Linked DNA regions of Homo sapiens: all the other regions are linked to region 5. Evidence: promoter capture Hi-C in 16 types of primary human blood cells and fetal thymus (Javierre and others, 2016). All regions are on one chromosome and are shown on one strand. Each heading gives the region's core, a stretch centred on a gene start or on the middle of the fragment in contact. The rest is flanking DNA. Distances are from core to core; before and after follow the strand shown.

The links. The method cuts DNA at HindIII sites, captures the fragments that hold promoters and counts their contacts. A CHiCAGO score of 5 or more calls a contact.
Region 1: a fragment that was not itself captured here is called in contact with the fragment with the promoter of ACAT1 in region 5 in 2 of 17 cell types (neutrophils and M2 macrophages); the score reaches 5.4 in neutrophils.
Region 2: a contact is called between a fragment that was not itself captured here and the fragment with the promoter of ACAT1 in region 5, in 7 of 17 cell types (naive CD4 T cells, naive B cells, neutrophils and 4 more). The highest score is 8.2, in naive CD4 T cells.
Region 3: a fragment that was not itself captured here is called in contact with the fragment with the promoter of ACAT1 in region 5 in 1 of 17 cell types (neutrophils); the score reaches 7.6 in neutrophils.
Region 4: a contact is called between a fragment that was not itself captured here and the fragment with the promoter of ACAT1 in region 5, in 2 of 17 cell types (neutrophils and non-activated CD4 T cells). The highest score is 5.6, in neutrophils.
Region 6: a contact is called between a fragment that was not itself captured here and the fragment with the promoter of ACAT1 in region 5, in 1 of 17 cell types (M2 macrophages). The highest score is 5.8, in M2 macrophages.
Region 7: a fragment that was not itself captured here is called in contact with the fragment with the promoter of ACAT1 in region 5 in 2 of 17 cell types (M2 macrophages and M1 macrophages); the score reaches 6.5 in M2 macrophages.

Annotation. Positions count from the first base shown.
Region 1 is chr11:108,313,888-108,317,149 of GRCh38, reverse strand. It overlaps ATM (ATM serine/threonine kinase), which reads right to left. Exons shown (of 63, transcript NM_000051.4): 41 at 1,239-1,327; 42 at 1,037-1,139. It also overlaps a transcript of C11orf65 not described here. Among named protein-coding and RNA genes, the nearest start is that of ATM, 92 kb to the right of the region's middle. The HindIII fragment of the contact is 6,335 bases long and covers 1-3,262 here.
Region 2 is chr11:108,345,065-108,348,342 of GRCh38, reverse strand. ATM (ATM serine/threonine kinase) reads right to left here. Exons shown (of 63, transcript NM_000051.4): 58 at 2,435-2,600; 59 at 978-1,064. It also overlaps a transcript of C11orf65 not described here. Among named protein-coding and RNA genes, the nearest start is that of C11orf65, 120 kb to the left of the region's middle. The HindIII fragment of the contact is 2,793 bases long and covers 268-3,060 here.
Region 3 is chr11:108,295,288-108,298,851 of GRCh38, reverse strand. It overlaps ATM (ATM serine/threonine kinase), which reads right to left. Exons shown (of 63, transcript NM_000051.4): 33 at 1,470-1,565. Among named protein-coding and RNA genes, the nearest start is that of ATM, 74 kb to the right of the region's middle. The HindIII fragment of the contact is 6,595 bases long and covers 1-3,564 here.
Region 4 is chr11:108,364,673-108,367,921 of GRCh38, reverse strand. It overlaps ATM (ATM serine/threonine kinase), which reads right to left. Exons shown (of 63, transcript NM_000051.4): 62 at 2,704-2,840; 63 at 1-2,597. The coding sequence ends at 2,414. It also overlaps a transcript of C11orf65 not described here. Among named protein-coding and RNA genes, the nearest start is that of C11orf65, 100 kb to the left of the region's middle. The HindIII fragment of the contact is 1,297 bases long and covers 1,130-2,426 here.
Region 5 is chr11:108,120,317-108,123,766 of GRCh38, reverse strand. It overlaps ACAT1 (acetyl-CoA acetyltransferase 1), which reads right to left and starts at 2,200. Exons shown (of 12, transcript NM_000019.4): 1 at 2,089-2,200. The coding sequence starts at 2,160. RefSeq lists silencers at 1,989-2,398, 2,000-2,538. The HindIII fragment of the contact is 9,706 bases long and covers 2,029-3,450 here.
Region 6 is chr11:108,277,424-108,280,521 of GRCh38, reverse strand. It overlaps ATM (ATM serine/threonine kinase), which reads right to left. Exons shown (of 63, transcript NM_000051.4): 23 at 914-1,031. Among named protein-coding and RNA genes, the nearest start is that of ATM, 56 kb to the right of the region's middle. RefSeq lists an enhancer at 2,587-3,098. The HindIII fragment of the contact is 588 bases long and covers 976-1,563 here.
Region 7 is chr11:108,251,114-108,253,782 of GRCh38, reverse strand. ATM (ATM serine/threonine kinase) reads right to left here. Exons shown (of 63, transcript NM_000051.4): 11 at 1,752-1,946; 12 at 871-966. Among named protein-coding and RNA genes, the nearest start is that of ATM, 29 kb to the right of the region's middle. The HindIII fragment of the contact is 861 bases long and covers 989-1,849 here.

The DNA.
Region 1 (3,262 bases), core at 89-2,588, 190 kb before region 5:
CTGGACAACAAACCAAGACCTGTCTCTACAATTTTTTTTTTTTTTTAAAATAGCTGGGTATGGTAGTGTGTACCTGTAGCCCCAGCTACTTGGGTGGCTGAAGCGAGAGGTGCCCTTGAGCCAGGGAGGTCAAGGCTGCAGTGAACTATGATCACGCTAATGCACTCCAGCATCAGTAACAGGGTGACACCTTATCTCTAAAATTTATTTATTTATTTATTTTTGAGATGGAGTCTCGCTCTATTGCCCAGGCTGGAGTGCAGTGGCGCGATCTCGGCTCACTGCAACCTCTGCCTCCCAGGTTCACGCCATTCTCCTGCCTCAGCCTCCCAAGTAGCTGGGCCTACAGGCACCCGCCACCACACCCGGCTAATTTTTTTTTTTTTTTTTTTTTTTGTATTTTTAGTAGAGACGGGGTTTCACCGTGTTAGCCAGGATGGTCTGGACCTCCTGACCTCGTGATCTGCTCGCCTCGGCCTCCCAAAGTGCTGGGATTACAGGCGCAAGCCACCACGCCTGGCCAAAAACATTTTTTTAATCCCAAAATATCGTTTAATGTTTCCCAAAAAACACAAAAATAGAGCTCAAAGGGCTCTAATATTTCATGGAAGAATGGCTAAGGAGTATTAGCCAGTAATAGAAACAACAGGTTCTGGGACCAACTCTGTTGCAAACTATGAGAAATAGTTTACATAAGATTTTCCATGTGAAGCAGTAAGTACACTACCTGGCACATTGTATATGCTCGAGCAATGTCTTCTGTTGTTATCCAACAACACTATGATCAAGAAATCTACACTATCTTTTAGGTCAATGACCTGTCTGACTTTCCTGTGTCTCCCTGAATTTTTTCTCTTTTTTTTGCATCCCTCTGCTTCAGGAGTATCCCTGAATGTTTAGCCTAATCCTCTGAAAAACAGATAAGTTCTAGTCTTATCTCTAGAGTTTATCTGGCTGTGTAAATATCCACCAACATACTGAAATAACCTCAGCACTACACTAGTGATGGCTTTACCAAATCTGGGAAAAAATGTACCTGAATGATTCCTGCCTGGCGTGTTGATGAGGGGATTGCTGTTTCGAGGTCATATGTTACTAGGGCTTTGCCCCACATTGCTTCGTGTTCATATGTTCGTAGTCTATAAGAAAAGATTGTGAAAATAGCTTTGGGTTTTACACACACATAACTCCTTCATAAACAGAATTACTATACCGTTGTTTAGAAAAATGCAATTTACCTAGTAATGGGTTGTAACATCTTCCCTCCACCACAGCCATACAAACTATCTGGCTCCCCTATACTTCTGTAGATTTCTAAGAGAAGATCCTGAAAACATGGAAACAACAAAAATTGAAGAAGGAAAAAAAATCGGTCTATAAATTTAGCAAATTTTAAATTGTATCATTACCAATATGTAACTCCCAACTCTAAATGTTATGTTATAGAAATAAAATGTAATGATTCTGAAATACAGTTCTGAAATACAGTTCAAACAACACGAGTTTGAACTGTGCAGGACAACTTATATGTGGATTTTTTTTTCAATAAATATATTGAAAACTTTTTGGAGGTTTGCCACAATTTGAAAAAATTCACAAACCACACAGTTTAGAACTACTGAAAAATTTTTTAAAAGTTATGTCATGAATGCATAAAATAAATGTACAACTAGTCTACACATTCCATCATTTGTATACATTTGATATGATACATTTCATCATTTACTACCATAAAATATACACAAATCTATTACAAAGAGTTAAAATTTATCAAAACTTACACACACACACTGTACACAGCATTATTTGTGGTTAAGACAAATATAAACAAATGTAAAGATGCAGTATTAAATCATAATTGCATAAGATTAACTATCGTACATATTGTACTATTGTAATAATTTTGCAGCTACCTCAGTTGCTACTGTGGTAAGCATTATTGTGTTGTGAGTATCTGCTTAAAATGCCATGTGACACTAATAATTTCCACATGAGCAGTTCATTTCTCTAGTAAATTGTATCCAGAAATGAAAAGTAATCTCTCCAGGTTCTCATGTATTTTTTCACTGTGTTTACTGCAATACTATAAGCCTTGATTAACACCACAGTGGCTGGAGGTGCTTCCAAGATGCAGAGAAAAGTCATGCCATTACAAGAAAAAGGTGAATTGTTTGATACATTCTGTAGATTGAGGCCTAAAGTACATATCAACCAGCAGTGGTTGCCTACAATTTCAGACAGATGATTCTTTGTAAACAGATGATATAAACTTACGGTATTGATAAACACAGTACAGTTCTGTAAATGCATTTTCTCTTCCTTATCATTTTCTCAATAACATTTTCTTTTCTCAAGCTACTTTATTTAAGAATACAGTATATAATACATATACAAAATTGTGTTGTTTATATCATCGGTAGGGCTTCTGGTCAACAGTAGACTATTAGTAGTTAACTTTTGACTACTAATTTAGTTTTACCCTGATTTTTAATAGCACAGGGGGTTAGCACCTCTAACCCTTACACTGTTCAAGGGTCAACTGTATATACTAATGATTTGGATCAGCAACACAGTAGACTGGTCCTAGACAACAGGAGGACTGTAGTCTACCCGAGAAGAATTGCCTACAATTTCATGAATTAGATAAGAAATAAGTACCGACCTACCAGGCTTATATCACATAAAAAAAAAAAAATCACACAAACAAAACCAAACAATCTTGTCAACACCTAAAACTGTACATGGGCTGGGTGCAGTGGCTCACATCTTTAATCCCAGTACTTTGGGTAGCCAAGGCAGGCAGACTGCTTGAGCTCAGGAATTCAAGATCGGCCTGGGCAACATGGCTAAACCCATCTCTACAAAAATTAGCTGGAGATGGTGGGGCATGCCTGTAGTCCCAGCTACTTGTGAGGCTGAGGTTGGAGGATGGCTTGAGCCTGGGAGGCAGAGCTTGCAGTGTGTTATGACTGCACCACTGCACTCCAGCCTGGGCAACAGAGCCAGATCCTGTCTGGAAAAAAAAACAAAAAAACTGTACATTAGAAAATACAGTCCTACAAAGTCTGACTCTTGAAAACTCAATTTGGTAAGAATAAAGGTCGTGGATTTTTCTTTGAAAAATAGCACAAAACTGTATTGGAATTGGTAAAATTTGATATGGATAAAGTAGTTTGGTTACTGAAATCTTTGTTGTAAAATTTACACAGAAAAGATATATTCTGTTTAAAACAATCTCAGTTAAATAAAAATGAAAACATAA
Region 2 (3,278 bases), core at 415-2,914, 230 kb before region 5:
TTAATACTTCAAAATAATGAGCAAAACTAAATTCATCACTTTCTTATTATTTACAAAACTTGATATATTCCTTAGCTATATATATTCTCTTTCTTTTATATTAAACTGTCTATATATATACATAGAAGCTATATATTCTTTCTTTCTTATATATTAAACTGTCTATTCCACCTAGAAATTCCATTAATACTTCAAAATAATGAGCAAAACTAAATTCATCACTTTCTTACTATTTACAAAACTTGATATATTCCTTAGTTAGAAGCTTCAGTTATCTGGGGGCCCCACTCCCCCACTATTTCCTCATCTAATATCACTGGTACAGTTTACTACAAAAATGTCCCTCAAATCCAATATTCTGGTTTCTACAACTTTAGTATAAATCTTCATCATTTCTCATCTAAACTATTACAATATCCCTTAATTTTTCTTCCTGCTGCCAATACCACTCCCCAAAGTGCTCCTGAAATTATATTTCTGAAAATAAAATATTATCATGTCCTTCATTTATTTCCTATAGTTTAATGCAATGAAGTTGAAACTCCTTAGCCTGGCTTTTTACAGTCTAGTACCAATCTCTCTCTCAAGCGACTCAACTACAGGCTTACTTCACTCCAGACACATTTAATGTCTCACCACTCCCACAACATGCTACATCTTAAAATTACTCCTTGTTTTGGTGGAATAGCCCTGATTCCTTCTTTTGAATCTGCTCTATCTTCTGTCTGAATTATGCTTTCTTTCTTTCTTGAAGACCAGGCTCAAAAGACACCTCATCTATTAAGTTTCACTCAGTACCCCAGGCAGAGTTAACTGTTTCTTCTAGGACAACTGTTTATGCTGAAAACAAAAAAACCCAATATTTACTGCTTCAATTTATCTGTCTCTTATATTTGTAATATCTTGGTAGGCAAACAACATTCCATGATGACCAAATATTTACTAAAAAGAATAGATACATAGATTTTATTACTTACCTAGATCTATATGTACAAGTTCTGCTGACTGCTCATTTATCAAGATATTCTGTACATGTCTATCACCAAGTCCAAGTATGTAACCAACTGGAGAAAAAAGAAACAAACAATCTGAAATCACTGATTCCATCTCTTTCTAATATATAGCCATAATTTCAATTAAGACCACTGACTTGGTATAATCTTTAAGTAGTTTAGGATTTTTAGCCTACTTAAATGATGTGCATAACCGGCCATGTTGAGTTTAACTCAAATCTTGCCAGCTATTTTAATGCATATTGCATTTTACAAATCCTAGATGATTTGCTAAAAAAATTTTCTCTTTACTAATAGGCACACATTTTAAAATATTAGTACTTAAAAAATTATTGTGGCTAAAGTTGAGACCCATTATTTACCTGGGTCAAAGCTGTGCATTATATGTACTCAAATTTTTATTGAACATACTTATAAAATGAGAAGTCTATGGATAAACTCTTCACTCTTCAGTGAAACTTTCTTCTCCTTGATGAATTATATTTAACACAAATTAATCATTAATTCATTTCACCAGGTGTGTATCCCCCCAAAAAACTGCATTTCTGTATTTAAGACAGATGATGACATGCACTAATGGGAGAAATCACATGGCATTACAAAAAAACACACTGGGTAGGGAATCAGAATGACTGGGTGTCTGGCTTGCTCTGTCATTAACTAGGCCTACTTTCTTGTTTATAAACTAGTTGTATCAGATTAGTGATTCTCTATGTAGAAGAGAGTTTCACAATTACCTGGGAACTCTTTCAAAACATACATGCCCTGCCTTCCTGGGGTATAGTATGTAAGTGATGGAGGGAGTTGTCTTTAGTTAAAAAAAAAAAAAACAACAAATAGATTAGATGATCTCTAATGTTTACATTAGTTCTCATACTCTAGGATTTTGTTAACCATACTATCTACCTATTCTAATTTCTTAGGGAAAAAAAGTCAAAATATATATTGTACACAAAATATTTAAATATATCTCATGGTTTCTATTCTGAAAACAAAATTCTATTAAAAAGTATTAATCACTAGGTGATGATATTTAGAGGTTATATGCAAAAGAACAAAAATAATTAAAGGAAATAAGTTATCACAGGTTTCATTATTTTCCAAAGAAAGTCTCAGAAAATAATATATTGAGAGGAGAGAAAATATGCCATATTCACTATAAAACAAAGAAGAAAACCCTGTCTTTTTATTATTTATTGAAGTAGGAGAATTCTCTTCTGCATAAGTTATAAAAAGGTAGACACTAAGAATCAGGATGAACAAGAAACATATGATTTAATAATGAAGATGGGTTGGTTACTAACCACATCATCACTATCATCCCCCTGCAACTCAGAATGTAGAAAAAGTGCTGAATCAAACAAAAATAAAACCTGCCAAACAACAAAGTGCTCAATCTACTATATGTACAAGAAGATTACCAATAGAAGAAGTAGCTACACTGCGCGTATAAGCCAATCGCTTCTCAAACCAAATAGCTGGATCCAAGAATTTTTCCATGCAGAAGTAACGGAAAACTGGTTGAAAATTTTGGCAAACATCCATGAAGACTTCATATTTCTCTTCAAAAGACTTTTTTTGCACCTCCTTTAAATAGAGAATATATATAATTATTTTTCAATATTGTGTTCAATTAAACTAATATACACATTTTTATATAAAAATATGACAGATATAGGGGCAATAAAGATGAACAGGATACATTACCTACAAGAAGCTAACAGTCTGGACAGGGAAGCAATTAATTACAAGTGATAATCCCTTTAGGATTTCCATATTAATTGTTGGGGGAGGAAGCACACCTACAGTGACTGTTACTTGTTTTGATTAAATTCTAATTTGAATAATCCTGTACTCTTAAGCAGAAATAAACACAGAAATGCCTAAGTAGTTCCAGATAACCTCAGGTGGCATCACAGCATTGGGTTGCAATAGAAAACAGGAAAAGAGAAAGAACAGAAGAATCCCTCATAGATGGCAGCTGATATGACTCAGATCTCTATCCTCCAACATCTTCTTGCCATAAAATACTACCTGAAGCAAAGCTTACCGACTTCAACTCCCTTCCATCTATGTGCTGATGATTTCTAAATCTGTTTGGCCCAGATATCTTTATTAAGCTTTAGCTTAATGTGCTTCTCAAGCTGCCCATTCAGCATCTTCACTTGGATCACTTCCAAATTCAAATACTTCATCTCTGGCAAACTTTAGTCACCTCTTCTATTCTTCAATGCAGTAAAGAGCTTCACCATCTACCCAGCTGCC
Region 3 (3,564 bases), core at 926-3,425, 180 kb before region 5:
ACCCTGCAACTTTGCTAAATTCATTTATTAGCACTACAGTAGCTTTCTTGTGGATTCTCTGGGATTTTCCATACATAAGATCATGTCGTCTGTAAATACAGATAGTTTTACTTCCTTTCTAATTGGCATGCTTTTAATTTCTTTTTCTTGTTTAATTGCTCTGGCTAGAACTTCCAGTACACTGTTGAACAGCAGTAGTGAAAGTGGACAGCCTTGTCTCATTCCTGATCTTAGGGGGAAAGCTGTGAGAACAAACCACATTAATTTTATGCTACACAGGAAAGCCACTTAGGGCTTCTGTTGTAAATCAGGTCTGTCCATAAAAGCAGTGCCACTATGGACAAGGAGGTAAGTATGTTGGTTAAAGAAAACTTCTACAGTTCTGGTAAGATTCTGTTTTTTAGTCTGGGTGCTACATGTACAAGCGTACTCTGCAAACATTCTTCAAGCTAGATATTTTTGATCTGTATACTTTTCTATATTAGGATATATCTCAATTTTTTAAAATCTACAAAAAAGGAAGTACTGTAGATATTAGGCTCCTAATGAGAAGTTAAGGCTGTTGAAGAAAGATAGTAGAATCTGTGAAACACTACTTATTCCTATTTTTCTAATTAGAAACAAAAACCATCACGAGAGCTTCAAGCTGACTTTAACCAGGTGATTTCTCCATCCCGTGGTCACTAAATCTAAACACCTAAACTAGAGATGATGTTGGCTTCTTATTTTACATTAGGTTTCCCCTCAAATGGCTGTAGGAAAGGACTTGAATGGTTTTTAATTATTTAAGTTTAATCTAGCCCTCCAAGTCTTCATTCTTATGTCTGCTACATAACAAAAGACACTGAGTACCTGTCAGTTATAATGTATTTATAAAATATATCGGCAGTCAATTTATTTGCAACTTAACTCTAAAAACAAGTATTTCTGACTTTCCTAAATATTTACAAGGCATTTTCAAATTAAGTTATACACATATGTAAATCTCTAACTTTTCATTTTATATGAATATTTAAGGAAGAAAAGTACAAAAGGGGCCTTTTTAGGGACATTTTAATTAAATAGGCATGTAACTTAGCTAGCATCTCATATTTCCCCAATATCCCAAATGACAAACCCTCACTTATTTTGAAGATATAATAAAGATAACCACTCATATAATAAAGATGACCACCGCATAACTCACATTCATTCCGCCAATACAATCATGCTTTGCTTAATGACACAGATATGTTCTGAGAAATGTGTCATTGGGCAATTCTGTCATTGCGTGAACATCACAGAATATACTTACACAAACCTAGATGGTATAGCCTACTACACACCTAGGCTACAAACCTGTATAGCATGTTACTATACTGAATACTACAGGCAACAGAAAACATACAGTAAAAATACAGTATTATAATCTGTCCTATATGTGATCCGCAGTTGACTGAAATGTCACGCAGCGCATGACTGTAGTTTACCTAGAACTTCTTTTTCACCAGTGTGGTTTATTGCCATCTTGGATAACTGCAACAAATTGACAACTAGTTTCACCATAATCCCATCTTGCGGATTATCTAGAAATAATTTTTTAAAAATTAGTTTAAACTAGCATGAAGACAACACTTTTGTTTATAATTGCATATATATTAAATTATCTGACTAGAAAACTTCTATAAAGTTTAAAAAAGGTTTTAAGTCATGAGTAGCTCAAAAAATATGTAGGGAATGAATCTGAACTTCCTTAATACAACAGATTCTTTTGAAAGTGATTAGCAATATGTGACAACAGAGAAAATAAAATGTCTTAAACAAATTGTGCAGATAAGTCAACACCTTAGCAAAATCACAAACAGAAGCACAAGAATCATTCAACACTAAAGCTAGAAGGGACTTTGGGAGCCTGCTTGGCTTTTTAACATCTAACATTTAGAGTTTAGACCAGCACTGTCCCACAGAACTTTCTGCAATGATGGAAATGTCTATAATCTACACTGTCCAATGATCACTACTGACCAAATGTACTACTGAGAACTTGATATGTGTTCAGTACCAATGAAAAAACTGAACTTCAAATTTCATTTAATTTTACTTCATTTAAATAGCCAAATGGCTAGTGGCTGTAATGCACAAGGCAGATCTCTAGCCCATAAAATACTCAAGAACACAAGTACAAGAAATAATGGTGTTTCTATTTACATACATTTTATATATCTCAAATGTATTAGAAACTCTATGCTCAGATAGTCAAAACTAAAATTCATTTTAAAAAGTACTGAGAGTAAAAACAACACAAGAGAAATATGAAATTAGGCCAGGCGTGGTGGCTCACGCCTGTAATCCCAGCACTTTGGGAGGCCGAGGCAGATGGATCACTTGAGGTCAGGAGTTCAAGACCAGCCTGGACAACATGGTGAAACCCCGTCTCTACTAAAGATACAAAAAATTAGCTGGGCATGGTGGCACACACCTGTAATCCCTGCTCCTTGGGAGGCTGGGGCAGGAGAATCACTTGAACCCAGGAGGTGGAGGTTGCAGTGAGCTGAGACTGTGCCACTGCACTCCAACCTGGGCGACAGAGTGAGACTTCGTTTCAAAAAAAAAAAAGAAATATGAAATTAATTGGTATAGGAAGATGAAAATCAAAACACAAAGTAGAAAGTTTCCCAAATACTGTAATAATGTACATTTCAAATCAAATTAACAAGCAAGCTAGAAAAACTTACAAATACATACTTACATATATATAGACACACATAACACATATGACTAAAGTATTAAAATGAGACATATTTCTTTCATTCAGGTAAACTGGACTAGAAGACAAGACTAACTTGTATGTCTGGCTCTAAGGAATTAAAATTTTCTTTTACATGGTTGGAAGGTGTTAAAAATGTTTAAGCATGGGCCAGCCGCGGTGGCTCATGCCTGTAATCCCAGCACTTTGGGAGGCTGAGGTGGGCGGATTGCCTGAGCTCAGGAGTTTGAGACCACCCTGGCCAACATGGTGAAACCCCGTCTCTACTAAAAAAAATACAAAAAATTAGCCAGGCATGGTGGCAGGTGCCTGTAATCCTAGCTACTAGGAAGGCTGAGGCACGAGAATCTGAGCTCAGGAGGTGGAGGTTGCAGTGAGCTAAGATAGTGCCACTGCATTCCAGCCTGGGCAACAAGAGCGAAACTCCGTCTTAAAAAAAAAGAAAAAGAAATGAAAAATGTTTAAGCATGGCTAGATGCCGTGGCTCACACCTCTAATCCCAATGCTTTGTGAGGCTAAGGCAGGAGGATCACTTGAGGCCAAGAATTCGAGACCAACCTAGGCAACATAGTGGGACCCCTGTCCCTACAAAAAATAAAAAAAATAAATAAAGTAGCTAGGTGTAGTGGTGTGTGCCTGTTGTTCCAGCTATTCAGAAGGCTGAGACAGGAGAATTCCTTGTACCCAGGAATTCAAGGTCATAGTAAGTTATGATGGTGCCACTACACTCCAGCCTAGGTGACAGAGTGAGACTCTTAAAAAAAAAAAAAAACTCTGTCTCTTAAAAAAAAAATTTAGGCAGTAGAAAAACATGATCA
Region 4 (3,249 bases), core at 529-3,028, 240 kb before region 5:
AAGTTTACTGCATTTCCTTGATTTACTATAGTAATAAAACTACCAATATATACCAAATATTCATTTAGGCAGCTTGTAAGAAAAAGATACACCAAGGTAAGTTTGTAATTTGAAATGCAAAGTAATATTCTGAACAGTTCTCCAGAAGTCAAACCAAGAAATTTATAGTCCAAAAAGTTCTGGAGATTGGTTTTAGGGGAGGGGAAGGTGAGGAGATCAAATATGAATGAGTGCCTGCCATTGGCAATAAAAAGAAATGCCAACTCTTCATAAGAAAAAAATTTATATAACCTTCAAGGTCCAAATACGAGGAGAAAGCTCAATCACCCATTTGTTAATCTCCGCAGCTGGGATGAACATTTTCCTAAGGATGGAGAAGAGATTATACTCACTAATACACGAGTCAGTAGTTTTACTTTCAGGTGGCTTTTTATCTGATGTTTATCTTATATGATGACAGCTGGGGGACAGAGAAATGTTCCACTTCTACCTATGTATCAAACTAGATACCTAAGCCCTTCCCTTCCAACAGAACACAGAGAAATGCTGGATAAAATGTAGAAAACATTCTTTTAAATACATAGCAGAACTTACAAGAAAGGGGAAATCCTTACGGTCAAAAATGAGGGGAATGAGGCCGGGCGCGGTGGCTCACACCTGTAATCCCAGCACTTTGGGAGGCCGAGGAGGGTGGATCACGAGGTCAAGCGATCGAGACCATCCTGGCTAACACGGTGAAACTCCGTCTCTAATAAAAATACAAAAAATTAGCCGGGCGTGTTGGCACACGCCTGTAGTCCCAGCTACTCGGGAGGCTGAGGCAGGAGAATTGCTTGAACCCAGGAGGCAGAGGTTTCAGTGAGCTGAGATCATGCCACTGCACTCCAGCCTGGGTGACAGAGCAAGACTCTGTCTCAGAAAAAAATGAGGGGAATGAAAAACCAGAGAGGTGAATATGTGAGCTGATGCTGTAGCTGTCCTGGAACAATTTGCCAGTCTCATTAACCCACGGCTTTTAGCTTAGACATCTATATGGGGAGCAAAGAACCCAGGGCTTGCCAAAGGCAGGCAGTGGGAATTAAATGTACCTCCTTCCACCCCTGCCATAAAGGTGGGACACATGGAAGCTTATACTCTCAGTGAAAAAGGCATCAATCAAATATTCTGCCCACTAGCACAAGGAGATGAGGAGGAAGTGTGTTTGCCTTGGCCTGGGAAATCTCCTATCAGTATTTATGCTACACTTCAGGTATGGAAACCCTAAAGCCAAGAAATTAAAATAAGAATGGGCTTGTGTGCAGCAACAGCCCTGGGAATATGACATAAACAGACACTCAAGATTCCCATAGATAAAGCCTTGCTGAAAATAAACTCACTTTTCAAAAAGACAAAACTGGATGAACAGCCTATCAAATACAAAAATCAACAGATATAAACAGCAGGAACTAAATTTAATAGAACTATTACAGTGTCTATCAAGTACAGACATTTAAAATAATTAGTGACATAAAAAACATTAAAAAAACATTAAAAATGACATCAAGAAACAGAGATCTGAAAAATGATGCATAATTAGAAATGAAAAACAATTTCTGAAAGAAGAAGCCCAATGGATAGGGTAAAAGAGATTATATACATCTGACAAGAGAATTCATGAACTAGAAGGCAATCTATGAAGTTATCACAGAAAGATAACATACATGGACAGTACAGAAGGGCTTAAAAGATAAAGAGAATAGAATGAGAAGTTTTAATACACACTTAAAAAAATAGTAACTACACTAACTGTGTCTTTGAAATTTGTTCTCCATAACAACTTCATTATTTAGTAACACTGAGTGATCTTACTAGGAAAAATCCAAATACGTTTCTGTTTTTTTTTTTTTTTTTTTGAGATGGAGTTTCGCTCTTGTCACCCAGGCTGGAGTGCAATGGCATGATTTTGGCCCACAGCAACCTTCACCTCCCAGGTTCAAGAGATTCTCCTGCCTCAGCCTCTCGAGTAGCTGGGATTACAGGTGCCCGCCACCATGCTCGGCTAATTTTTGTATTTTTAGTAGAGACAGGGTTTCACCATACTGGCCAGGCTGGTCTCTTGGCCAGGCTGGTCTCGAACTCCTGACCTTGTGATCCGCTCACCTCGGCCTCCCAAAGTGCTGGGATTACAGGCGTGAGCCGCTGCGCCCAGCCCGAATGACCATTATTTCTAAAGAGTGAAAGCAGAGATGTTCCTTAAGACCATCAAAACATTTTTGAGTGGTGATTAAATCAAGTATTAAAACCAACATTCAAAAAAACCCACAATAGTTCACTTAAATATTAATCCCTACTTAAAGTATGTTGGCAGGTTAAAAATAAAGGCTAAAATATAATTTCTAAAGGCTGAATGAAAGGGTAATTCATATACTGAAGATCACACCCAAGCTTTCCATCCTGGGAAAAGTCGGCTGAGATTTTTGGGGTCTATGGCCTGCTGTATGAGCAAATTCACTTGTCCACCAACACTGAGCACAGTGCCTTCTTCCACTCCTTTCAGTTTCTCTTGTAGTCTCATTAAGACACGTTCAGCTACTTTGTTGAAACTCTGGTCAATATCACTAAGGACAAAAACACAAAGGTTTCAGTGAGGTGAACAGTTTAAAGGCCTTGGGAATAAGAAAATCTGAAAAACTGACAACAGGACCTTCTTAAAATACTGCTCACCTGAGATTTCGTTTGCATTCTTGGTCATCTGCATTCAGAGTAGGGTGAAGCTCAGTTTCATCTTCCGGCCTCTGCTGTAAATACAAAGCTTTCAAAGGATTCATGGTCCAGTCAAAGAGTGGATCATATAGAAGGACCTAAACAGAGAGAACATATGTATTAAAAGAACAATGTACATTTTAATCACATACTTAGAAACAGTAGAACCAGTATCATACAAATAAGCCAGTCACATGGTAGTTGATGGGGGAGGGGAACAAACATCATGCACACTTCATGTTTCCTTGAGGAAACTATCCTAGCATAATGCTCCAAGCTTCTCATTTCATTCTGAATTCATTCTTCCTCCATGGTTAGGGGTGACATCCCTTGACCCATGTTTCCTGACTGGATGAAACTAATCTATTAAAAGGTTAGTCACTTTCTTTCCTTCTCTCTCTACTCTTAACCCTGGGTTAGTGTATTTGCTTTGTAGGGCCCAATTCTTCCTCAGCCCAGGCTGTCTCAAGGTATAGATTGGGATGTGGGAACTGGAGAGCACCAGCA
Region 5 (3,450 bases), core at 951-3,450:
GGAGTTCAAGACCAGCCTGGCCAACAGAACCAGACCCCGTGTCTACAAAAACTAAAATTAAAATAGATTTAAAAAAATAATTAAAAAACAAAGAAAAAGGAAATCACTGTATTTTTCAGCTTCAGTGGCAAAGAAATTTAACTGCAGAGAGTTAAGGAGAAATAGATGCAGAATACATGGGAGGTAATGAGTAAAGACCACTCCTTTGACCAGAGAGAGAAAAGTGATTAGAGCTAGAAAGGCAATGTGCTCCAATAAAGTCCATAAAGATTTGTTGACCATAAAAGAGACCTGGTAAGCAAAGGGAAAAGAGCCAATGTAATGAGAGGTCAAATTCCATTCTACAAAATAGCACAGAAAACTGGAAATCCTGTTTATAGTTCAGTAAATGACCATTTAATTCAAGTGTCCAATACAACTGCTTCCTAGAGTTCAGTAATATGAATGTCACATATCATACATTACAGCATGTACAGGCTTATTTTTTTCATGAGGAGTATTTGTGTTTCATTTTAAGATCTTTTTTTTTAAGACGGAGTCTCACTCTGTTGCCCAGGCTGGAGTGCAGTGGCATGATCTCAGCTCACTGCAACCTTCCCCTCCTCCCGGGTTCAAGCGATTCTCCTGCCTCAGCCTCCCAAGTAGCTGGGATTACAGGCGCCTGCCACCACACCCAGCTAATTTTTGTGTGTGTGTGTATTTTTAATAGAGGTGGGGCTTCACCACGTTGGCCAGGCTGGTCTTGAACTCTTGACCTCAAATGATCTACCCACCCCGGCCTCCCAAAGTGCTGGGATTACTGGCATAAGCCACCTCAACCAACCTGATTGTAAGATCTTAATTAAACCATAAATTAAGAAGGTTCTGAACTTTTTTTTTTTACATCTCTAGAGTACCTAGTTCACCTATGTCACCTAGTCAATACTGACTGAAACCCAAGATAACCTAATTACTTTCTTGTGATTTCTTCACTCATCCCATGAGACTAACAAATAGGCTAAAAACTCATCTTCCCTGGAAACCTACGCCTTGTGACTTTTCTATTATCTCAGTCACCCAGGATCAATTTTAGACTCTTTCTTTTCCCTTGGCTTCGCACCCTCACTCCCTAATTGTCAAGTCCTAGACTGGTTCTTTTACAATCTCTTGCAAAGCTCCTACCGCCAGCACCCTTGTGCAAGTAATGTTATTCTACGCCCAGACGTAAGAACTAGAGTGACCTACCATTGCAACAAAAACAAACATATCAACAATCCCTACTTAACTAGGGTCAAGTCCATACTCACAACATAACTGGATCTCCAAGCTTATTGCCCCCATCGACCTAGAAAACTCAAGCTTCACCAACCACACCCTGAAGGTCTCTACCTATTCCTGAGGCTTTGCCTGACAATCTGTGGTGCGTACTCCCTTGCTTACGCATGTGGAGAATAAATTCTTTGAGACTCTGCCCCTGCTGTGTTCCCTAAACACAACGGTCAGAAGAGCGACAGCCCTTGGAACGCCCTCAGTATGTGAGCTTTGCTCATATGTCAAGTATAATTTATTGTATTATCTGAGTAGTCATTTGTTTTCCCTGATAAATTTCAGGCTGCTCCAAAAAACATCTGTTATGATCACATGGTGCCCTCTCCCCTTGTATGCCCAATGATTATCTATTGTATTAAAAAAGAAAAGGAACCTCTCCTGACAATAACGCACACAAATATGTTTTAAAGAAAATCTCGGGAGCAGCTGCACAGGCCTGCAAAGAGACTCTCCCCGATCCCACCGCTCAGGCCGGGCCAGCGCCAATCCTGGCGGTCCTGCCCGCCCAGACACGTGCCCTTGTTTGACACACCAGTAACGCTCATTAAGATGATTACGCCGAGACCTTGGAAGTAGAAACGCGCTGTAAAAATAGGCGAGTCCCTGGGTGTTATCGGAGCACTTAGGCGGTTTTTGGACCAGAACCCGTCGCGTGACTGTCCTGGGGCCTAAGCCGCGCGCCCGGGCCGCGGGAGCCGCAACGGCCGCGGGCTGGAAGCTTCCGAGGCGGGGACTCCTCGCATCCCGGGTCTGAGTGCTGTGGGGACGAACCCCGCTCACCTGCACCAGCCTCCGGAGCAGGGGGCTGCGGCTGCGGGCGCCGCTGCGCAGAAGTGCCGCCAGCACAGCCATGGTCGCAGAGGGCTGAGTATCGGCTCCACAGGCGTAGACTAGCGGCCTCCTCCCCAACCCCGCACCCCTAGCGGCCCGGCGCGGGCACCGCCCATCCCGCTTCCTCCAATAGTCGCCTCTCAGTCGGCGGCGATTGGCCGGCAGCCAAGGGCGGGGCGGAGCCTGGCGCTGGGACACCGCAGCCTGGGCCAGGAAAGGTTGACGAGTGAAGGACGTGGATGGAGACACTGGCGCTGGGGTCAACGAGCACCTGACACGCTGCTGGCTCCCGTGTCCACCAAGTCTAACCTGCCGGGGCCGGTGGTTTATGTGTAATCCGAGATTTTTCGATTTACTGAGCATGTTTCCCTTAGGCCTACCCAGCACAAACTCATGAAAATATTTTAGGATTTTTTTTTTTTTTTTTGAGACAAGGTCTCACTCTGTCACCCAAGCTGGAGTGCAGTGACGTGACCACAGCTCACTGTAATCTCGACCATCAGGGCTCAAGCGATCCTCCCTCCCCAGCCATCCCAGTAGCTGAGACTACAGGCGAAAGCCTCCACAACCAGATAATTTTTGTATTTTTTGTGGAGACGGGGTTTCACCATGTTGGCCAGACTGGTCTTGAACTCCTGGACTCAAGTGAGCCTCCCTCCTCGGCCTCCCAAAGTGCTGGGATTACAGGCGCAGGCGACCACGCCCAGCAAATTGTTGTATTTTTTTTTTTTTGTAGAGACTAGGTCTCCCTATGTTGCCTAGGCTGGTTGCTGACTCCTGGGCTCAAGCAGACGGCCAGACTCAGCCTCTCAAAGTGCTGGGATTACAGGCGTGAGCCATCACACCCAGCCGTGAAAATATTTTGAAGCAATCAAATTCCAGGCTCAGTCCAGATACAAATATGGGTAAAAAGGCCTCAGGTGATTCCAGTCCCCAACCTTCAACCACTCCAGCTGAGACCCCAGACATCATGGAGCAGAGACAAGCCATACCCACCATGCTGTCTGAATTCATGGTCCACAGAAACGAGAGAAAACAAATGGTTGTTATTTTAGGCCATTATGTTTTGGAGTATTTTTTTTTTTTAAGATAGGGTCTCGCTCTTGTCACCCAGTCTGGAGTACAGTGGTGCAATCATATCTCACTGCAGCCTCAAACTCCTGGTCTCAGGGGATCCTCCTGTCTCTGCCTCCCAAGTAGCTAGGGGATCCTCCTGTCTCTGCTTCCCAAGTAGCTACGTAGCTAGGACTACAGGCATGCTCCACCATGCTAATTTTTTTAATTTTTATTTTATATAGAGAAGGGGTCTTG
Region 6 (3,098 bases), core at 20-2,519, 160 kb before region 5:
CCCCTACTATGTACCCATAAAAATTAAAAGATCTAAAAATAAAGCAAAAAGTATAAAAGATCCAAGTTCTTGTATTAACTTTGTTCATGACAATATGCTTCTATTAATGCAGTGTAAGACAGAGTTAGCCTTTTTGGTAACTGTAATACAATGTTGATTCATACTATAATCACAAGATACAAAACTTCCTAGGTCTTTTTCTAAATGAATTGCTGTCAGATCAGTATTTTCCCTTTTTGCAGATGACAGGCTGATTTAAAATGTATAATATACATTATCTCATTAGATTTTATGTTATTTACACTTATCTTTCTAATCTATTGAAATTCTTTTCTAAACTCACATTCTTTCAATTGTTCCTTTCAATTTCCTGCTATCACAGACTTGACAGTTATTTAACTACCTTAAATACTTGTAAGAAACAAACCAGGGCATAAATAAATGAAAAAATTTGAACTCTAAGATAATCATTACCATAAAAAATATATTATTCTACAGAAACGTGAAATATCACAAGTTTCACTGTAAACACCACAATGATTTGATTTTGTGTGAGATTCTTCTCCTCAATCCATTTCTTCCCATTGTCACCTGTTCCCTTAATTAGCTTTTAATCAGATCACATATAAAAGGATTTTTAAAATAAAAAAGGGAGCCATTTATACTCCCATAAAAACTCAGTTAAATTTTGGGTTTCTCCATAAAAATGCTAAACCAAAAGAAATTGCTATGATTTGACCCATTGTGACCCAGAAAGAATGCAGTTTCAATCAATTCATACAGTTGTTTTAGAGCAGCTTTATACTGTAAACTACTGGATTATAAACTCTCTTATACCAAACTTGGTGAAGTAATTTATGGGATATTCATAGCAAGCATATGATAACAGCAAATACATGTTACTTAAAATTACCATTTCTCTCATTCCTTCCTGAGCTTTCAAGTATGCATTTTCAAAAGCTGTTTGCTGAAGCTTCAAAGGAAGTGCTTTCAGTAACCTGGAAGAATCTCCCTTCGTGTCCTGGAACAATCTTAAAACAAGCAAGCAAACAAACAAACAAAAAGTGAAATAATTTTCTAATTTCAAACCCTACTTTCCAAAGCATATTCCAGAACAAAAATAAATCACTCTGTGAGACATAATAACATACTAGCTCTTTCTTAAAGACTAACAAAACCTGAGTTTATTTAAAGAGGTTCAGACCAGCAGCTTAGTATTAAGGTCTTGAATACAAAATCTATTTTCTCCTAGAACTGAAGAGGGTCTCAAAATATATTTTAACTATTGCTCAAATTTGAACAGCACTGAACTCAAACTAGCCAGAAAAGATAAACTGTTCTCTGGCCGAACACCAATTAGTTGAGTCCACAGATTCCAATGTCAACCTGCTCTAACATTTAATCACTCTGAAAGCGGGTAAGTTAATGTTTTTATGTACCATTTAAATTTTGTTTTATGTGATGGAAAAAAGTTGATCAGTACACCTTTTGCGTAACACCCACATATTTAAGGATAACTCTTTAATCAACTTTGTCTTTTATCCTTTTTTAGTAATCGAAGCTTTTATAATTGTTTATGTTCCTCTGATTCTTCTAGTTTCACTCACTGCTCTTAAAATAGCTGAACATTAGATATCTGCTATTGTCTGAATGTTTAACCCCTCCAAATGTCATGTTGAAATCTGATCCCCATTAGGTTATGCCTAATGGGAGGTGTCGGAGTCATGGGGGCAGATCCCTCACGAATAGATTAAGGCCTGAGGGTAAGGAATGAGTGAGTTCTCACTATTCAGTTCCCACAAGGGCTGGTTATTAAAAAAAAGAGCCTGGCATGGCCTTCCCCGCCTCCACCCTTGCTTCCTCTCTCACCATGTGATCTCTGCACACACTGATTCCTCTTTGCCTTCTGCCATGAGTCTGAGGCCCTTACCAGATGTAGACGCCATATGCCAAATAAACCTCTTTTCTTTGTAAATATCCAGCCTCAGGTATTCCTTTATAGCAACACAAAGGGACTAAGACAAAATCTAACAAGTGTAAAATTAAAAAAAAGAATGCTACTTGCATGTTATTCTTGAATTTATACTTTTTGAATCTTCAGTTTTTTTAATGCCACCACTACACTGCCGCCTTATTACATTCAATTCAGTCTTATATTACCTCAGTCCTTAAAGTTCAGCATACATTTGCTTTTATCTGTGAAATTTAATAAGGGCTTGAACTACTAAACATATTCATTAGAAATCCTTGCAATGCATTATGGTCTTACTAAAAACAGTTCCAAACCTGAGGAGTTAGACACAAAATCTAGTTTATGAAAACATTACTGTCGGCATATTCAAATACTGAAATATTAGTTTTAATACTTTATGTGACTGCTGAACAATATAGTAATCTTTTATTATTGATTGCTTACATTTTAAAGTTACTCAAATGATTTTCAGCTTTGATGTTTTTGAAGCATCATGTAATTTTTTTTCAAGTACATTCATTTATTTTAAAACAGTTATTGGATACCTATCACATGCCAAGTATTGTTTTAGGTGCTAAAAATACAACAATGAACAGAACAGACAAAAACCAGTGCCTTTAGGAACATATATACTAGTGGAATACGGAGAAGTAAATATATTAAAATATGTTTCACGTTATCATAAATACTAGAGAAAAATAAAACAAGGGAACAGCAAGATGGCAACATAGGAACAGTTCTGGTCTGCAGCTCCCAGTGAGATCAACGCAGAAGGTGGTGATTTCTGCATTTCCAACTGAGGTAGATGGCTCATCTCATTGGGACTGGTTAGACAGTGGGTGCAGCCCACGGAGGGAGAGTCAAAGCAGGGTGGGGTGTAGCCTCACCCGGGAAGCACAAGGGGTCGGGGAACTCCCTCCCCTAGCCAAGGGAAGCCGTGAGGGACTATGCTGTGAGGGGCTATGCTGTGAGGAATGGTGGATTCCTGCCCAGATACTACGCTTTTCCCGCAGTCTTTGCAACCCGCAGACCAAGAGATTCCCTTGGGTGCCTACACCACCAGGGCCCTGGGTTTAAAGCACAAAGCTGGGCGGCCATTTGGGCAGACACTGAGCTAGCTGCAAGA
Region 7 (2,669 bases), core at 170-2,669, 130 kb before region 5:
CCAAGTACCTAATGCTTTGCCTTATATGTATTAGCAATATATTACAAAGGAAAACATTAACCTAGTATCTACATCATTCAAAGACTACTTATATAATTAATAGATTATTCTTTTAAATGCTTCTCTTCTTCGGACTTTGAGACCTACTTATATCAAATGTCATTATTCAGTAGCAAATTTTACTAATAGATAGAGAAAAAATACAAGTTACAATCTCAAAGGCAAATTCAGAAAGTATTTTTAAAAACACCAGATATAAATGTTAAGCATAACATTGTCTGCAAACATATCCCTTTTTTCACCAAGCAGAGGAAGTAAAGAGCATAGGTTTAAAAACCTTTAACATCTGGTATAGGTAAGCAGTTACGCATCCTTTTGCCCTCTTGAGGGAGATAAGGAATGTTTGTGCCAGTGAGTCATTTTCAGTCACAGCAATACAATCTAAGTCTCTTGAGTCAATCAACTAAACTCAGGTTTAGATTTATTTTTGTTTTCAATTATCATTAGTTTTTAAAGCTAACAAATAGTCAAATCATAGTTGATGTACAGAAATGGGTAACATCTTTAAGAACTTATTTCATATAAATTTTATATTCTTAATTTCCCAGCATAACCATTCAGTTTTTCTCATTGGCACTTGTCACATATTATACTATACAGCATTAAAAAATAGTAAGCTTGGTCTAATGTTATATAACATAGATTACAATCACTGAATTAAAACAACCTCTTCCCTGGCTAACAGTTGCAATTTTTTTGGACCAATTTAGTTTACAATTATTAAGATGCAGCTACTACCCAGCTAAAATTATCATCTTTGTAATTAAAGCTATAGCTTAAAATGATAAAGAGCATTATTAGATAACATACCATTCTGGCACGCTTTGGAAAAAATTCATTGCAGCTTTACAGTTTTTCATAGTGAGACTCACAAGAATTTTCTCCAGTACAAGATGAGGAAAATTACTACAAAGAAAAACAAAAAGCTTCACTTAGAAGACCAAAAGCCATGTAAAGAATACTTTAAACTTTAACATCCATGTTTAGCTATAAATCTTGACTTCTAAAATTTGGATCCTAGATTAAAATTGCTTTCATCTATACTAAATTTCTTAATATCTAAAAGGACAATTTAAGGAGGACAACCATTGTTATTATCATTTCCAATACTGTTTAGAAACAGCATGTTTAACATTATTTCTGAAATAAATAAAAGGTTGTAAAATTAAAGCAAAAGTACTTTAATTGGATCCATTCGGAGGTCTGCTCTCCAATCATTTGGTTCCAATTACCAATCTGTGGAAAGGTTAAGTGGACGAGGGACTCCATTCCTTTATCCTAGTGCTTACATCCTGTTTTGTCTTCCTCGTTTCCTCACCTCATTCATAAAACATCTTTTACCCAAAAGACACTCCCATTATGAGAAAGGATCCAGGATCTACATGACTCAAATATATGGACTTACTTATTTAAAAAATCAGAAAGGAACACATAAATGCTCAAAGAATTATATGTGCATTTTTCATGCACATCCCCCATATTCTCACAGTGAGACAACCCTTTATTTCAGAAGCAATCAGGCATAAAGACACAGATAACTGTAAAAACAAACATAATATTTAATAATTAAGGTTAGATCTGGGAAATTCTGCATTATTATTATAAAATAAAGCCATCTGGCATCAAATAAGTGGAGAGAGCCTGATAAAACAAACAAAAAAAACAGCAGCATGCTAATGAACTTAAATTACCTGTGAAGAATTGGAGGCACTTCTGTGCTATTTTCTAAGTCACCCTCTAACTGATAGAATAAGAGCCATTTCATTATTGATTCCTTTAAAGAAAAGCTTCTATTTACTTCACACATATTTTGCTCTATTCCCATTTTTACCGTTCCTGGAACTATACTGGTGGTCAGTGCCAAAGTCAAACAGCATACTGCAGGACTATAACAAAACAAAGGACAATTGTGAAAAGCAAGCTATTGGAGGGGCAAAGACTTTATCTATCAGGACAGTGCCTGGCACATACATTTAGTTAAGGTGACTAAATGAACATAAAAACTGTTAAAAGTCTGATTACATTTGGGAAGATTCTTGATTAAAAAATAGCTCGTTTATTAACAGTGCATAGTACTACAATTTAAACATGGCTATTTAATAAATAATGATAAATTGCACATAAAAGAAATTTAAACTCTTCATAATTCTTTAAAGAAAGTCTTTTGGATACACGTATACAATTAGAAGGAATAAGACCTGGTGTCCGATACATCAGTAGGGTGACTACGGTTAACATTAATCTATTGTACATTTCCAAACAGCAAGAAGAGAATAATTCAAACGTTCCTAGCATGAAGAAAAGATACGTAGGGTGCTGATATCCCATCACCCTACATGAGTGTGTCATATGAGTGTGTCAAATTATCACATGTACCTTGATAATATATAACTCTATTATAGATCAATTAAAAATTTTTTAACTAAAAAAGAAATTCCTTAACATTAGTCTTTAATAATTTGTCAACATTTGAAACTAAATTCACTTATGCATTTATTAAGTCTTCTCGGCCAAACAAGAAAAGCATCTGAAATAGAATTTGACATCTTTAACTGAAGTAACAAACTATGAAAATGATCAGGGATATGTGAGTGTGTGTGTGTCTGTGT